2 separate regions of the Homo sapiens genome follow, and region 2 is linked to region 1. Evidence: promoter capture Hi-C in 16 types of primary human blood cells and fetal thymus (Javierre and others, 2016). All regions are on one chromosome and are shown on one strand. Each heading gives the region's core, a stretch centred on a gene start or on the middle of the fragment in contact. The rest is flanking DNA. Distances are from core to core; before and after follow the strand shown. Region 1 holds the start of MCM9 (minichromosome maintenance 9 homologous recombination repair factor). Region 2 has its middle 28 kb from the start of FAM184A.

Evidence for each region. Contacts are between HindIII fragments. The CHiCAGO score rates a contact against its expected background, and 5 or more counts as called.
Region 2: a fragment that was not itself captured here is called in contact with the fragment with the promoter of MCM9 in region 1 in 1 of 17 cell types (activated CD4 T cells); the score reaches 5.5 in activated CD4 T cells.

Annotation. Positions count from the first base shown.
Region 1 is chr6:118,933,033-118,937,206 of GRCh38, forward strand. It overlaps MCM9 (minichromosome maintenance 9 homologous recombination repair factor), which reads right to left and starts at 2,127. Exons shown (of 14, transcript NM_017696.3): 1 at 1,859-2,127. It overlaps LOC124901389 (a long non-coding RNA gene), which reads left to right and starts at 1,883. Exons shown (of 2, transcript XR_007059729.1): 1 at 1,883-1,958. RefSeq lists silencers at 1,376-1,625, 1,876-2,305. The HindIII fragment of the contact is 20,540 bases long and covers 1-4,174 here.
Region 2 is chr6:119,104,824-119,108,997 of GRCh38, forward strand. It overlaps a transcript of FAM184A not described here. Among named protein-coding and RNA genes, the nearest start is that of FAM184A, 28 kb to the left of the region's middle. The HindIII fragment of the contact is 4,278 bases long and covers 1-3,936 here.

The DNA of each region.
Region 1 (4,174 bases), core at 877-3,376:
AAGGTTCTCTATGTCCTCAGAAATCCAAGGGGCAAATAAAACGAAACAGTGCACTACCAGTGGTCAAAAATGCAATATGAATAGGAGTCAAAGGAGAGGGAGGTTAAATTTAAATGAGGTGACGATCTCAGAAGTAGCACTGGACAGTTAGAAACCAGCTGTCCAAATAAGAAACACTTATTTGGGGCCGGGCGCAGTGGCTCACGCCTGTAATCCCAGCACTTTGGGAGGCCGAGGCAGGTGGATCACGAGGTCAGGAGATCGAGACCATCCTGGCTAACACGGTGAAATCCCGTTCTCTACTAAAAAAAAATACAAAAAAAATTAGCTGGGCGTGGTGGCAGGTGCCTGAAGTCCCAGCTACTCAGGAGGCTGAGGCAGGAGAATGGCGTGAACCCGGGAGGCGGAGCTTGCAGTGAGCCGAGACCACGCCACTGCACTCCAGCCCGGGCACAGAGCGAGACTCCGCCTCAAAAAAAAAAAAAAAGAGAGAAACACTTATTTCGTTTGGAAAGAGATTGAGGACTGGAGAAGAGGTGTACTTAAATTTGACTTACTTCATTTGTCCAACATTTATTGTACTGGACTCTACAAATACGAATATTAAAGGAGACTGCTATAAAGTTCACAGTTTATCATCCTAAGTACGTGTTATACACGCTATTTGCTATATTTTGCTTTCTCTGAGAACCTACTATTCCGCAAGGTGTGAAACGTTTAAGAAGTACATATAGCAGTTAGGTCAAGAATCCTGACCACTATAGGAGGCCAGAGTGAGAGTAAGAATGAGTAAATGTATATCCAAAACAATGAGTGGAAATAAATTACGGCCTCCACGGTAATTTGTTTTTGGTTAAGCAATATAAATTCAGCCAAGTGTAAAGCAGAAAAAGCACTTGGGAAGGAATATCTCCACAATGTGGACTTTGCCCAAAAAAAAAAAAAAAAAAATCTGGACTCCCAACAGTGGCTACAAGAGAATCACTATGATTCTATTAAAGCATATTAAGTTTAGAGCCACAAATTTAGCAATTTGAAAAACAGCTCCACACAAGGCAGGAAAAGGGCAGCAGCAGAATTCAACGTTCAAATTAAGGTCAGATTAAATTTTGCCTAGTTAGGCTAGCATTTCTATGGTTATATGGACCATCGTTATTCATTCCCTTTCAACATCTATGCAAAACTGACTAATCAACTGTGTTATCAGCAGTTTGCTAAATCAATAAACGTACCTACTACCCACCCAGATAGACACTGGAGGGACTTTTTGTTTTGAGAAGGGTCATTTCACAACTTTCAAGTTCTCTTTCCTTTTCTTATTGAATATTTGGGGTCAAAATAAAATCATTTGCTTTACTTTGTCCTCTTGACCACAGCGAAGCGTCGAAAAGAAGACAGGAGAGTGCCTAACTGCACTGGCATCCCCCAGCTGTCTCCGGGAATCGCGGCAGCCCCGCCCCGCCCGCCTGCACCTGCCGGGAGCCCCGCCCCCTCCGCGCGGGCTGGCGGGACGCGCGCCCTCGGCCCCGCCCCACTCCCTCCGCCCCTCTCACTGCGGGGGCGCGCCATTTCGCGCCTCCGGGCCGCTCGGCTGCCCCAGGGGCGCCTGGCAAACGTGGAGTCGCTCGGTTTTGGAGGCATGCTTTCCAAACTTTCTAATTCACAGGGTCTTTGCACGCAGCCCCTGCCCCACAACACCTTGGCAGTCTCTGAGACTTCTGGGGCTCTTCTCCCGGGCAGCTCCCGTGCCTGTCCGGTCCCGGAGTTGAATAGTTTTTGAAGTAATGAGACGGGAACGAGACTTGGGACGAACTGGAGAAAAACATAACCGCGAAAGGAGGAGGCGGCTATCACTTACTGGCTGTGTCAGAAGTCGCCGGGAACGCGTTGCTCCCGAGGCCGAAGGGCCCAGAGAGCTCCAGCCAGGCAGCGGGTTCGTCTCCGGCGCAAGAAGGCTGGTGAGGCGGAGTGCGCGCGTGCACGTGGCCGCTCGAGGCGCCACCGGCCGCGGGGACGCGCGGGCTGTGTCGGGCGGCCTAGCGCCTGCGGCTCTGCCGGGCCTGCGCTCTCGACCGACGCCGGGCCGCGCACCGCCTCAACTTCCCTGCCCCGGCGGCTCTTCCGGATGGAGACGAGGCAGCGGGGCGGGGTGGAGCGGAGCGGGCGGATTGGGGCGGAGCCAGGAGGGTCCCGGGCGGGGAGAGGGGCGGGACCCGAGCAGTGACCTCAGGCTAAGTGGCCAGAGCAGGGTTGTGCGGCGGCTCAGATCGGATCTTAGGGTTTGTTTTTTGTCTGTCCAAGGAATTTGCCTAACCCAAGGCCACAGAGGATCTCTTCTGTGTTTTCTGACACAAGTTTTAGAATTTTAGGTTTTATATTGAGGTCTGTGATCCAATTAGAGCTAATTTTTGTCTGTGGTGCAAAGTATGGATCTTAGGTCATTTTTTTGTATGTGAATAGTGTCATTTGTTTAGAGAGCTTTCTTTTTCTCACTGAATAGCTTTTGCACCTATGTTTAAAATCAGTTGTCCCTAAAGCATCAGTTGTGGGTCTATTCTTAGACTTTCTATTCTGTTCCGACAATTTATTATATTTCTCTCTACAAAAATACCACATTGTCTTGATTCCTGTAGATTCGTAAGAGTCTTAAAATCAGATCGTGTTTGGCCTCCAATTTTTTGTTATTTTTCAAAAATGTTCTGGCTCATCTAGTCCCTTGGGTTTTCATATGAATGTTAAAATCAGCTTGTCACTTTAAAAAGTTGGGATTGTGATTGGTTACATTTCGTCTATAGATCCATGTAAGAATAATTTACATGTTAACAATATTTAGTAATGACCCTTAAAGTAAGCCTCTTCATTTATTTAGGTGTTATTTCACTCAGCAAATGTTTTGATCTTTTGTCAGGTCTAGTCTTATATAGTCCATTTTCACAGTGCTAATAAAGACATACCTGGGACTGAGTAATTTATAAAGGAAAGACGTTTAATTGACTTACAGTTCAGCATGGCTGGGGAGACTTCAGGAAACTTAAAATCATGGCAGAAGCGGGAGCAAACCTCCTTCTTCACAGGGCTGCAGGAAGGAGAAGTGAGGAGCAAGGAGGGAAAAGCCCCTTAGAAAACCATCAGATCTTGTGATACCTCACTCACTATCAGAGAACAGCATGGGAATAACCACCCCCATGATTCAGTTACCTCCCACCGGGTCCCTCCCACAACACCTGGGGATTATGGTAACTACAGTTCAAGATGAGGTTTGGGCAGGGACACAGCCAAACCATATCACCCTATGTCAGATTTATCCATAAATCTAAGGATGGGGGAAAAATATACTTCTTGATATTATGTAAATGACATTTTAAATTTTCAGTTGTTCTTTGATAGTGTCTTAGTCTGTGTTGCTAAAAAGGAATGCCTGAGACTGAATAATTTACAAATAAAAGAGGTTTATTTGGCTCACACTTCTGCAGGCTGCTTCTGGTGAGGGCTTCAGGCTGCTTCCACTCAGTGAAGGGGAGGCTGCCTGTGCAGATCACATGGCCAGAAGAGAAGCAAGAGAAAGGGGAGGTAGTGGTCAGGCTCTTTTTAACAATCAGCTCTGGAGGCAACTAACAGAATGAGAACTCATTATGCAATGGCAGCACTAAGTTTTCCTGAAGGATCTGCCCCTGTGACCCAGACACCCCCAACTAGGCCCCACACTTGGGATCAGATTTTAAGATGAGATTTGGAAGGGAGAAATACTCAAACTATGTCAGATAGTGTGTAAAAATATGATTGGGGGTTTTGTTGTTGTTGTTACAGGTTCTTGCTCTGTTGCTCAGGCTGGAGTGCAGTGGTGTGATCATGGCCCACTGCAACCTCTGTCTGCCAGGTTCAAGCAATCCTCCTACCTCAGCCCCCTAAGTAGCTGGGTGATATGGTTTGGCTGTGTGTCCCCACCCAAATCTCACCTTAAATTGTAATCCCCAGGAGTCTGGTGGGAGGTGATTGAATCATGGGGCGAACTTCCCCCTTGCTCTTCTCATGATAGTGAGTTCTCATGAGATCAGGTTTTTTGAAAGTGTCTGGCACTTCCCCCTCACTCATTCTCTCTCTCTGGCAGTTCCCCCTCACTCATTCTCCCTCTCTCTCCCGCTCTGCTATGGTAAGACGTGCTTGCTTCCCCTTT
Region 2 (4,174 bases), core at 548-3,047, 170 kb after region 1:
AACTAGGTGATCAAGGTCAACGTCAATAGTGATAAGTCATTTTGATAGCATGTGCCCTTGATCTGATGTGATGAAAATAGCAGTTGATTTCTGTGATCTTCACTATCAAAACCCCTAAGTCCAGTCTAATTATGAGAAAAACATAAGGTAAATTTCAGTAGAGGAACATTCTATAAAACACTGGCCAGTACTACTCAAAACTGTTGAGGCCATCAAAGCCAAGGAGAGCCTAAGAGATACGATGACTAAATGTAATATGGTATCCTATATGGGATCCTGGAACAGAAAAAGGATAGTAGGTAAAAATTTAGGAAAATGGGATAAAATGTGGACTTTAGTTAATAATAGTGTGTCATACTAATATAAAATGTTAACAACAGGGGAATCTGGGTGTGGAATATATAGGAACTTTCTGTACTATTGATATGGTTTGGCTCTGTGTCCTCACCCAAATTTCATCTTGAATTGTAATCCCCACGTGTTGGAGGAGGGGCCTGGTTGGAGGTGATTGAAACATGGGGGTGGATTTCCCCTCTGCTGTTCTCGGGATAGTGAGTGAGTTCTCCTGAGATCTGATGGTTTAAAAGTGTGTGGCATTTCCCCCCTCACTCGCTGTCTCTCCTGCTCCACCATGGTAAGACCTGCTTGCTTCCCCTTTGCCTTCCACCATGATTCAGTTTCCTGAGGCTTCCCAGTCATGTTTCCTATTAAGCCTGCAGAACTGTGAGTCAATTAAACCTCTTTTCTTCATAAATTACTCAGTCTCACGTGGTTCTTTACAGCAGTGTGAAAACGGACTAATACAACTACCCTCACAATTTTTCTGTAAATCTAAAATTGTTCTAAAAAAAGTTTATTTAAAGAATATATGGGCTGCAAACAGGTACCTTCAGTTTTGAGCTATGTCTCCCATTTTCCCAATAATTTTCATCTAATACAAAGCTGGTCTTGCCCTTTCAATAATAGAAATACATTTAGAAAACCATACGCATTGCAGAAATTTATTATAATCTGTACTTTGACAGCAAATATCAAGCACATTTATTGCCCAGATGCATAGTTAGTTGGCAAACATTAATTTTAATTAATTAAGTATGTATAACTAACGTGAAGATATCAGTCATGAACAGCTGAATCTCAGTAAATTACCAGCTCCATATTTAAACAAACCACATCACTGTTTAAGGTCACATAATTGTCTCAGATTTTTGGCATGCTTTTTAAAAATTGTCATTCGTGAATTGGATACTGCTAGGAAAAGAAATGCTATTAAAAAAACCAAACTGATGCCGGGCGCAGTGGCTCATGCCTGTAATCCCAGCATTTTGGGAGGCCGAGGCGGGCGGATCACAAGGTCAGGAGATCGAGACCATCCTGGCTAACACGGTGAAATCCCGTCTCTACTAAAAATACAAAAAATTAGCCGGGCGTGGTGGTGCGCGCCTGTAGCCCCAGCTACTCAGGAGGCTGAGACGGGAGAATGGCTTGAACCCAGGAAGGCGGAGCTTGCAGTGAGATGAGATTGTGCCACTGCACTCCAGGGTGGGCGACAGAGCGAGACTCCGTCTCAAAACAAACAAACAAACAAAAAACCAAACTGACATATTTAAAAAGAGAATGTATTAAATGATCATTTGTATGGCTATTACTCAGAGTGGGACCTTTCGTCTTCTCATCTGCTTTCACAGTCTTATGATTTTGAAAAGTAAGCCAACTACTGGCTATGCCATCAGGCTATTAGTTTAACTTTTATAACTAGAGGTCATATGAATTATTCAGAGTAAACTCAGTATAACTACTTAATTGGTTGGCTCTAACTTTAGTTTTGAAACTAATTAACTGGAAGGGCTTCGGTAAATTACTTAATCTTTTTGTGCCTCAGTTTTCTCATCTCTAAAAAGGACTAATTGTAATTATCTTATGTGGCACAAAGATGTTGTAACAAAGTAAAGTAATAAGGCATGAAAACTGTTTGGGAGGTAAGGTTTATTTCACACTACAAAAAGTTCTTTGTAAATACAGATATTCACTGAAAAAAATCTGGTAAGTTACGGTGAATGGGAAAGGTTCTGGAAGAAGACAGAGATTGGTAATTAGGAGTAACTTTTTCCAAAAATGAGAAAAAGCCATAAACATTTGTTGCACTAATTTATCCAAGTTACTCATTTCCTGAAATGTTTTTGTAGGCCATATATTACTTTCACAGCTCTCAAGGGAATATCAAAATTTGGGATAAATCTATTATCCTGAAATTGTAATATGGAATTGTTAGTGAGAAATACCACTTAATGTGTAGTAAACATTAAATGTATAAGCTGCATATGAAAATAGTTTCTACATGATTTCAGTCTGCCAAAGCCAATCATCTGTCTCATGGAAACTTATGTTCATACACCTTTCTTAGGTTGTCATGGGATTCTTAAGTTTTAAAATACTTATGTTTACTAATATTATCAATGTTATTCTGAAAAAAAAGACACTAGAAAAAATTATCTCTAAATATGATGGATTTACTCAGGAATAGAAGTAAAGATTATAATTTGGAGTGCATGGAATGGCAAGCTACCAGTGCATTTATTTGGTGAGGGAAGGGTAAGAGGAGCTTTTATTAGCAAAAAAGAGTCTTACATAAACTGCTTAGAAGCAGAGTTCATTCGGCTGGGCACAGTGGCTCATGCCTGCAATCCCAGCACTTTGGGAGGCCAAGGTGGGCGGATCACCTGAAGTCAGGAGTTCGAGACCAGCCTGGCCAATGTAGTGAAAATAATTTGTCTCTAATAAAAAACCTAAACAAAACAAAATAAATTAGCTGGGCATGGTGGCATGCACCTGTAATTCCAGCTACTCGGGAGGCTGAGGCAGGAGAATTGCTTGAACCTGGGAGGAGGAAGTTGCAGTGAACCGAGATCTCGCCACTGCACTCCAGCCTGGGTGACAGAGTGAGACTTTGTCTCAAAAAAAAAAAAAAAAAAGAAAGAAAAGAACAGAGTTCAGAGTTCATTGGTCCTCAAGTTTCAAAGCCAGAGTTATTGTCAGTTCATTGTTGGAGATGCTGTTGCTGGGCAAGTGTTCCTTGGAGAACTGCTCTTAGTATTCTAAAGAAATTTAAGACATATTTATTAGGTGACAACATTCTTTACAAATATGAACTGAATTGGAATAAAAGGTTAATCAGGTATTGTTCTATGCGTGACTAGGGTTCTCCAGAGAGCAGAATCAGGAATTCTGGTAGTGAGGTTAGAATCTGTGTTTTAATGAGCTCTTCACATAATTCCCAAATTTGAAAGTTTGAGAAGCACTTGTTAGTGTGTGTGTGTGTGTGTGTGTGGTGTGTAGGGTTCTTGTATGGTTGCCATGACATTCATTTTCTTCCTTGTTTGTAGTAAATATGAGTCACTCATCGAGACCTTTTGATGCCTTGATATATGATGGGCAAATTCCCCTTGACACTCTCACCGAATAATTTTTGTTGAATGAGATTGGAGCACCTGTCTGGAGCAGAGTGGAACCATCACCAAGAACTCGAGTCTCTTCTCTCTTCTGAAATGCTGTTAAATAGCCTCTACCCCATCCAGGCTCTATTGAGGTCCTCTGCACTTTAGTTTGCTTCCTCCAAGTCAGCAGCTCTAGAAGGTGGCCAGCACTGGTGGCAATTTTTTTTTTCTTTGCCTCTGCCGAAATTCCATGATGGTGTACTGGGGTTGTCACTCTTAAAAACTTTTTCTTGACTTTTTAAAAGACTGTCTACCTTTTCAAATCATAATCTTCTCTTCAAATTGCAGGGAGTGCCTGCAATCCTCTTCATGGATTGAAAATGACAGTACCCTCTGGAGGTTGGGTTGGTTCCCTCTTTGGAAGGAGTCACCCAGGGATTGATGGATGGAGTTTGATGGAGAGTGAAGAGAGCTGCTGGCTCAGGAGCTGACACTCAGTACAAGCTTGGGTACCTGGGATGCTCCTGGGTTTCCCAACCATTAAAGCTTTGAGTGGAGTTGGGAATGCCTGAGCCAATAATCTCCACGCTCCAGGAAACAGAAGTGACTTCTACTCAACTTCCAAATGTTTTCTTCCTAGCTTTTGAGGGCATCTATGAGTTGACTCAATACTACAAACCTAAATCTACTCCCCACTATTTTCCAAAACAAGTCTTCCTTTCATGCCACAAACAAGCCAA